Linked DNA regions of Homo sapiens: regions 2 and 3 are each linked to region 1. The links are contacts of gene promoters, found by promoter capture Hi-C in blood cells and fetal thymus (Javierre and others, 2016). All regions are on one chromosome and are shown on one strand. The core of a region is centred on a gene start or on the middle of the fragment in contact, and the rest is flanking DNA. Distances in the headings are between cores, read along the strand shown. Region 1 holds the start of OR5B17 (olfactory receptor family 5 subfamily B member 17). Region 2 holds the start of OR10Q1 (olfactory receptor family 10 subfamily Q member 1). Region 3 holds the start of OR1S2 (olfactory receptor family 1 subfamily S member 2).

Evidence for each region. Contacts are between HindIII fragments. The CHiCAGO score rates a contact against its expected background, and 5 or more counts as called.
Region 2: a contact is called between the fragment with the promoter of OR10Q1 here and the fragment with the promoter of OR5B17 in region 1, in 4 of 17 cell types (neutrophils, M2 macrophages, monocytes and 1 more). The highest score is 8.3, in neutrophils.
Region 3: the fragment with the promoter of OR1S2 here is called in contact with the fragment with the promoter of OR5B17 in region 1 in 4 of 17 cell types (M2 macrophages, neutrophils, monocytes and 1 more); the score reaches 5.9 in M2 macrophages.

The regions. Positions count from the first base shown.
Region 1 is chr11:58,357,798-58,360,503 of GRCh38, reverse strand. It overlaps OR5B17 (olfactory receptor family 5 subfamily B member 17), which reads left to right and starts at 1,435. Exons shown (of 1, transcript NM_001005489.2): 1 at 1,435-2,380. The coding sequence starts at 1,435. The coding sequence ends at 2,379. The HindIII fragment of the contact is 4,652 bases long and covers 896-2,706 here.
Region 2 is chr11:58,227,471-58,230,208 of GRCh38, reverse strand. OR10Q1 (olfactory receptor family 10 subfamily Q member 1) reads left to right here and starts at 1,291. Exons shown (of 1, transcript NM_001004471.2): 1 at 1,291-2,327. The coding sequence starts at 1,334. The coding sequence ends at 2,293. The HindIII fragment of the contact is 6,807 bases long and covers 571-2,738 here.
Region 3 is chr11:58,202,614-58,205,752 of GRCh38, reverse strand. OR1S2 (olfactory receptor family 1 subfamily S member 2) reads left to right here and starts at 1,611. Exons shown (of 1, transcript NM_001004459.2): 1 at 1,611-2,549. The coding sequence starts at 1,611. The coding sequence ends at 2,549. The HindIII fragment of the contact is 6,408 bases long and covers 1,490-3,139 here.

The DNA of each region.
Region 1 (2,706 bases), core at 186-2,685:
ATCTGCAGCCTACAGTCAGCCCCCAAGACTACGAACCTCCAACCCTCAATATCTGATATCCTGCTAAGTGTTGAGAGTAATGACAGGAAGAATGTGTCTAAGATAAAAGGGGATTGTTTCAACACAAGGTAAAATGTAGTTTGAAAGGGAGAAATTAAACACAACAGGACTTGAAGATCCCTGGGTTCTCATGCTAGATGGCTGACACAGTCATTCACCTGGCAAAGAATGGATAGAGTGAGAAATGCTGAAGGAAACAAAAGACTGGACATAGTGTGTAAGAAAATACAGATCAGACAGAGTAAAACTGCCAACTTGAAAACCCACCCACACCTTCAGCCCTGTGTGTCACCTCTATGTGTTCTACACCAACATATGCACCACCATTCCATCCTAATAATAATATTATAGCTAGCACTCATCAGGACTGTGCTGAGTGCCCACATTTTGCCAACAGCTGAGCATTATCTCATTTAACTCTCAAAATAATCTCTTGACATAAGTCCTAATATCATCTTCATTTGACTAATGGATAAAATGAGATTCAAGGAAGTTAGATTAAGACCAGTGTCTCCCAAGTAGTAAATGTTAGGGCTTATGAGTTAATACAAATCTACCTCTTCTTAGAGTCCTAGATTTTATACCCAATGCTATATCTTCTCTGCAGAATTGGCTTTGTTGGTTGCACATGACATTAATGCTGCATTTATTCCACTTCATCTAGTATGCATTTATTTGTGCATTGCTCTACTATGCAACTTCATATGTTATGCTTGGTATAATAGATAGAATGAGTACATATAAATAGATTAACATTTAAAATAATTCAAATTCATTAAAAGAATTTTAATTCTTTTAATTTAGGTTGGGAACCACCCTGATTGTGTCTAAAGCTTGGTTCTATCTACTGGTGCTTGTGTAATCTTGAATAAATTATTCAAACTCTTTTTTTCTACCAAGATACTTCATGTATAAATTGGCAATAATAACTAATTAAATAATAGGATTAATGAGAGAATTCTATGAGGATGTACATATAAAGCATCTGGCATGAGACAACTATAAGTGTGTTTAAGATGTTAGATTCAAAAAACATATTATTTGGGAGATAGATTCACTTCAGGCATGTGACATTGGACAACTCATTATTCCCTTCCTATGACTCCATTTACTCAGACACAAAATTAAGAAGCTGGAAAGATGATCCACGAAGACCCTTTTTCTTCAAAAGTCTATTACTGTATAGATAAGTTATCCACTAAATTGTGTTTTCATATCCATAATTTTGATCTAGGAAATATAGAAAACAAATCATTGCTATAATAAAATAACACATACATTTCAGTTTTGTGCAACTCTGTTTTGTTCATCACAGGGTTTTTCTTTTTTATCTCTCCTTGCTACAGAGTATCTTGTGATTCTAAAATAACATCCATGGAGAATAATACAGAGGTGAGTGAATTCATCCTGCTTGGTCTAACCAATGCCCCAGAACTACAGGTTCCCCTCTTTATCATGTTTACCCTCATCTACCTCATCACTCTGACTGGGAACCTGGGGATGATCATATTAATCCTGCTGGACTCTCATCTCCACACTCCCATGTACTTTTTTCTCAGTAACCTGTCTCTTGCAGGCATTGGTTACTCCTCAGCTGTCACTCCAAAGGTTTTAACTGGGTTGCTTATAGAAGACAAAGCCATCTCCTACAGTGCCTGTGCTGCTCAGATGTTCTTTTGTGCAGTCTTTGCCACTGTGGAAAATTACCTCTTGTCCTCAATGGCCTATGACCGCTACGCAGCAGTGTGTAACCCCCTACATTATACCACCACCATGACAACACGTGTGTGTGCTTGTCTGGCTATAGGCTGTTATGTCATTGGTTTTCTGAATGCTTCTATCCAAATTGGAGATACATTTCGCCTCTCTTTCTGCATGTCCAATGTGATTCATCACTTTTTCTGTGACAAACCAGCAGTCATTACTCTGACCTGCTCTGAGAAACACATTAGTGAGTTGATTCTTGTTCTTATATCAAGTTTTAATGTCTTTTTTGCACTTCTTGTTACCTTGATTTCCTATCTGTTCATATTGATCACCATTCTTAAGAGGCACACAGGTAAGGGATACCAGAAGCCTTTATCTACCTGTGGTTCTCACCTCATTGCCATTTTCTTATTTTATATAACTGTCATCATCATGTACATACGACCAAGTTCCAGTCATTCCATGGACACAGACAAAATTGCATCTGTGTTCTACACTATGATCATCCCCATGCTCAGTCCTATAGTCTATACCCTGAGGAACAAAGACGTGAAGAATGCATTCATGAAGGTTGTTGAGAAGGCAAAATATTCTCTAGATTCAGTCTTTTAATGATGCAAAATCATCACAATGTTATTTTATCTCACTTAGATCTACTTTATACAATAACTCAAATGTTAAAATGCTATATGGTATATAGAATGTAAAATTTCATCTAATATTATTTTTGTCTTTAGTTGAGAAACAGTTCTAAGTATCCACGAGTTAGAAAAATACGATGACAATTTCTCATGGAGTTTAATGAAATATGTGTTGTCTCTTGTCATATTTTAGCCAACTATGAGTCATTACTGTTTCTTAATAAACTAATATTTCAGGCATTAATAATTTTAGGTATTTGGTACAGCTTGTTCATATGACAATTTATAAATGGTAAAT
Region 2 (2,738 bases), core at 42-2,541, 130 kb after region 1:
ATGCATAATTCAATTGTGCTATTGCATTTTTAGTTTCCTCATTGTCTTTTCTTATCTCAGGAAGCTCCACTTTAATTTTAACCTGACTCTGTTCACTTCCCTTTCATTTGAAACTATTTGAGTCCAAAAGTTTAGCTTCCTGTTGGAAATTTAGATAAAATGTTCAAAAGAGAGGAAATATATGAAGAGTACATATCAGAAAAGATTGTAACAATGGGTGTTTTCCTACTTGTATGTGGAGTCAAAATAACTGAATGTAAAGTGAATAACTTATAGCCATAAAGCAATGGAAAGAACAAAGGATTGATTCAGAACAACAAGAATAACCTTTGCAGACATAATGTTGAAGCCAGTTACAATAAAGTACATGCTTTAGCATTTCATATATAAGTTGAAACATAGTTACATCAATCTGTAATGATAAAAGTCAAAAAGTGGTTACTTTTGTGAAGCATAAAGACTGAGAACATGAAGGATGTTTGTAGGTCACTGGAATCGTTCTATTTCTTAATCTTTGTAGTGGTTATACTGGCGTATTTACGATGTTAAAATAAATAAACAAATCAAGCTTCACACTTAGGATTTGTGAATTCCTCCACATGTATGTTATATTTCAATGAGAGTGCTTACTGAAAAAAGTAAAAGACAAATTCATTTATCTAATTTTAAAATATGTGCAACCATACAACTCTTCACTGTAATTAAATACAAGCAAAATAATTAAGTCTTATCAATTGGATTGAAAATATCGGGGTGGGGGGAGATATTTCACAAGGAACATCTACATGTGTCTACATGTCTTGCCCCCAGGAATTTCTGCAGATGACTGTCTATCCCATTCATGAGGATTTCCAAGGAAAAGTATACCAAACCCTATATCGTGAATTCATTCTCATGCACCGTGATTGGAAACTAGCTACTAAATAGTTAATTCCAAATAAAATTGTACACTCCTGCTTTTACTAAAGAAATAAAGCGGCCGGGCGCGGTGGCTCACGCCTGTAATCCCAGCACTTTGGGAGGCCGAGGCGGGCGGATCACGAGGTCAGGAGATCGAGACCATCCCGGCTAAAACGGTGAAACCCGGTCTCTACTTAAAAAAATACAAAAAAATTAGCCGGGCGTAGTGGCAGGCGCCTGTAGTCCCAGCTACTTGGGAGGCTGAGGCAGGAGAATGGCGTGAACCCGGGAGGCGGAGCTTGCAGTGAGCCGAGATCCCGCCACTGCACTCCAGCCTGGGCGACAGAGCGAGACTCCGTCTCAAAAAGAAAAAAAAGAAATAAAGCAACTCAGCCAAGAAGAGCTCAGCGCGTCCTATTCTTTTGCATAAGACATGCCTGTGGGGAAACTTGTCTTCAACCAGTCTGAGCCCACTGAGTTTGTGTTCCGTGCGTTCACCACAGCCACTGAATTCCAGGTTCTTCTCTTCCTTCTCTTCCTCCTCCTCTACTTGATGATCCTCTGTGGCAACACAGCCATCATCTGGGTGGTGTGCACACACAGCACCCTCCGCACCCCGATGTATTTCTTCCTGTCCAACCTGTCTTTCCTGGAACTCTGCTACACCACCGTGGTAGTACCCTTGATGCTTTCCAACATTTTGGGGGCCCAGAAGCCCATTTCGTTGGCTGGATGTGGGGCCCAAATGTTCTTCTTTGTCACCCTCGGCAGCACGGACTGTTTCCTCTTGGCGATCATGGCCTATGACCGCTATGTGGCTATCTGCCACCCGCTGCACTACACCCTCATCATGACCCGCGAGCTGTGCACGCAGATGCTGGGTGGGGCCCTGGGCCTGGCCCTCTTCCCCTCCCTGCAGCTCACCGCCTTAATCTTCACCCTGCCCTTTTGCGGCCACCACCAGGAAATCAACCACTTCCTCTGCGATGTGCCTCCCGTCCTGCGCCTGGCCTGCGCTGACATCCGCGTGCACCAGGCTGTCCTCTATGTCGTGAGCATCCTCGTGCTGACCATCCCCTTCCTGCTCATCTGCGTCTCCTACGTGTTCATCACCTGTGCCATCCTGAGCATCCGTTCTGCCGAGGGCCGCCGCCGGGCCTTCTCCACCTGCTCCTTCCACCTCACCGTGGTCCTGCTGCAGTATGGCTGCTGCAGCCTCGTGTACCTGCGTCCTCGGTCCAGCACCTCAGAGGATGAGGACAGCCAAATCGCGTTGGTCTACACCTTTGTCACCCCCTTACTCAACCCTTTGCTTTACAGCCTTAGGAACAAGGATGTCAAAGGTGCTCTGAGGAGTGCCATTATCCGTAAAGCAGCCTCTGACGCCAACTGAAGGCTTAGGGGCACTGGGCTGGGTGTCTGTCTGTTGCTGTGTCAAAGAACTCTAAATGACACAGAACTGTAGTACTTTCTCACACTGTGCACTTGATGTTTCTTTTTTGCCATATTTGCCCCAAGTTCACAATTCATGCTCATTTTTCTGAAGTGCTTTGACTAAGATATGAAAATTTGGACAGAACTTACAGCGTAGGAATGCTAGTTTACTTAGCTCTACTTTAAGGATTTGCAGCTCACCTATGTCAATTGCCATATTAGGAACACCCCATACATACTGTGAATAAAGGCTGATAGGCATGCTGCCTCCTGGGGAGATGATGTAATTTACCCTGTGAAAGTTGCCTTAAGTAAGGAATATTCATAAAGACATATTTTGCTCAAATAAACACATTTTATTATTGTTTTGGGTATCAGTATATGACAAACAATAGCTTACTTAA
Region 3 (3,139 bases), core at 362-2,861, 150 kb after region 1:
ATAAAATGAGAGGGAGACAATGTTAGGAGAGTAGAAAGAGGGACAAATGTCTCTTTGTTCCCAAGCTGAAATTATTTCCAATAAATCACAAGGAAAATCATACTAGGTCCAGTCTCTCTTCCCTTCTCCTGGATGACACCTTGTGAGAGCCGTTTACCTTTCTGGCCACTTAAGGTTTTAAAAATGTTTAACTTTGATACTGAAGACCCATTTCCAGGTATTAAAAAACCAAGTCCAGCCCAATTTTAAACTTCAGCTTCACTATCAATTCAAAGCATGGGTCCTACCTTGTAAGTTCAGATCTGATGTGTAGCTTGGGTCATACAGTGGAAAGGTGGGAGCATATGTTCTTCCCTTGCTCTTTGGCCTCTCTTCCCGCAAAACCGTTGTTGTTACTATTGTTGTTGTTGTTTTAGTCATTTTGGTCTTTCCTTCTTTTTCAGTTTTATCAGGTCAGGGAGGAAGAATGGGGATGGGAAAAAAGGCAAAAGTGTTCATATCTGTTGCCATAGATACTAGCAGCTTGTGCCTTATATGTGGCAGGCATGGTGTCTCTTGAGATCATTTTGAGGATTGTCAGAGGCTCCCTTTTGGAGACTGCCCCATTATGCGGTTCCCTGACAAGGGCAATGAATTATGTCCCTGATCTCTTTAAGATCTCTCTTTCAAAAGAGACCCACCTCATGGTTTCTTATTGCTACAGCCTCCTCTGCCCCAATAGGCTGTCTCTGGATTGGAATCTCAACAAGGTGACTTGACTCCAATGACCTCCTATAGCATCACGTGTCCTATGGGAAATTCACATATTTATGCCATGTCATGGGTGAAAATGCAGATTGCCCTACTAACCACCATCTTTTCCCTCTACCCTGCCATCACGACCTGATCCAGTGAGCCCCTCACCTTTAGAAATGAGAGGCAAACAGAAGTCTTTAAGTGTATCTGTGCCCCCTAAATTTTCTTGAAGCTAATATCTAGCCACAGATGAAGTAAAACCCTGATTGCTCCTACTTGTACTTATTCTCCAAAAGCACTTGTTTTGGAGTTCTCCCCCGGCGTTAATGGGATGAAGCACCCACACAATGGTGTACACTCCCATAGCCATTCCTAACCCTTAGTTGTGTTTCCTTCTCCAGTCTCTTCACTTTTACGAGACTTGAAATTTCTCCTTTCTTAGATTTAAGGCATAAAGTTGAACAAGGGAGATGATTTGGGGACCAGTTTGGTAACTTTTAAGTAATTCCTGCACATGTACCTAACATCTCTAGAATATAGGGTATGCCTCACCTATGATCCTCAGTTTGGGGGATTTAACCTACATTTAGAACCAACTGGGAAAATCACATTCAGAATTCTGTTAGAGTTTAAAACATGTTCATTGAGAAGAATCTGCCATGTCCTGTCTTTTTCTGTGGCATTTTCCAAATCTCTGCACTGCTGAAATACTTCCTTATTAAGTAGCACTTCCACTTAATAAGCAGAAGAAGCTTTATTGCTCATCAGCTTAAAGGAAGTGCCTTACTGTAATGGCTGCAGCCAAATGACACCATGTTAAATTTTCTTGTAGGTGTATGAAGACTTTGTGTTCCTTTCTTCAGATCAGCAGAAATATGCATCAAGAAAACCAAACCACCATCACTGAATTCATTCTCCTGGGACTCTCCAACCAGGCTGAACATCAAAACCTCCTCTTTGTGCTTTTCCTGAGTATGTATGTGGTCACTGTGGTTGGGAACGGGCTCATCATTGTGGCTATCAGCTTGGATATATACCTTCACACCCCCATGTATCTCTTCCTTGCCTACCTATCCTTTGCTGATATTTCCTCCATTTCCAACTCAGTCCCCAAAATGCTGGTGAATATTCAAACCAACAGCCAATCCATCTCTTATGAGAGCTGCATCACACAGATGTACTTTTCTATTGTGTTTGTCGTCACTGACAATTTGCTTTTGGGGACCATGGCCTTCGACCACTTTGTGGCGATCTGCCACCCTCTGAACTATACAACTTTCATGCGGGCCAGGTTCGGCACTTTGCTCACAGTCATCTCGTGGTTCCTCAGTAATATTATTGCTCTTACACACACCCTTCTGCTCATTCAATTGCTCTTCTGTGACCACAACACTCTCCCACACTTCTTCTGTGACTTGGCCCCTCTGCTCAAACTGTCCTGTTCAGATACAATGATCAATGAGCTTGTGTTGTTTATTGTGGGTTTATCAGTTATCATCTTCCCCTTTGTACTCATCTTCTTCTCCTATGTCTGCATCATCAGAGCTGTCCTGGGAGTATCATCCACACAGGGAAAGTGGAAAGCCTTCTCCACTTGTGGCTCTCACCTGACAATTGCATTACTGTTCTACGGAACCACTGTAGGCGTGTACTTTTTCCCCTCCTCCACTCACCCTGAGGACACTGATAAGATTGGTGCTGTCCTATTCACTGTGGTGACACCCATGATGAACCCCTTCATCTACAGCTTGAGGAATAAGGATATGAAAGGTGCCCTGAGAAAGCTCATCAATAGAAAAATTTCTTCCCTTTGATGCCCTGGACATCTACATTCTTTTAGTCCACATAATCAGATAAATGATTCAGCCCAGAGTGTATGACACAGTTGTGACGGTTCAACTTTTGATGAACTTGCAGATGTCTGTCTCCTATTCCAACCTCTAAGGGGATTGGAGCTTTTCCACTTAGCTCTTGTCTTGGAAACAAAATCTGTAACTGCCATGGTAAGTCACAAGAATAACACGCATCCTTAGAGAGTAGATTGGTGGTTACCAGGGCCCAGTAGCAGAGAAGTGGAGTGGAGTTGAATAGAGGTTGATTAATGGGTACAACAATACAGTTAGATAGAAGAAATAAGACCTATTGTTTGATAAATCATTATGGGGCACTATGGTAAACAGTAATCTATTATATATTTCAAAATAGCTAAAAGAGAATAATTCCAATGTTCCCAGCATAAAGAAAAGATAAATGTTTAAGGTTATGGATATCCTAATCCCCTAATTTGATTATTACACATTATATGAATGTATCAAAATATAAGATGTTCCCCATAACTATGGAGGACAATTTATCAATAAAAATACATGTATTGATAAATTAAAAATTTATGCATAAATAAAAA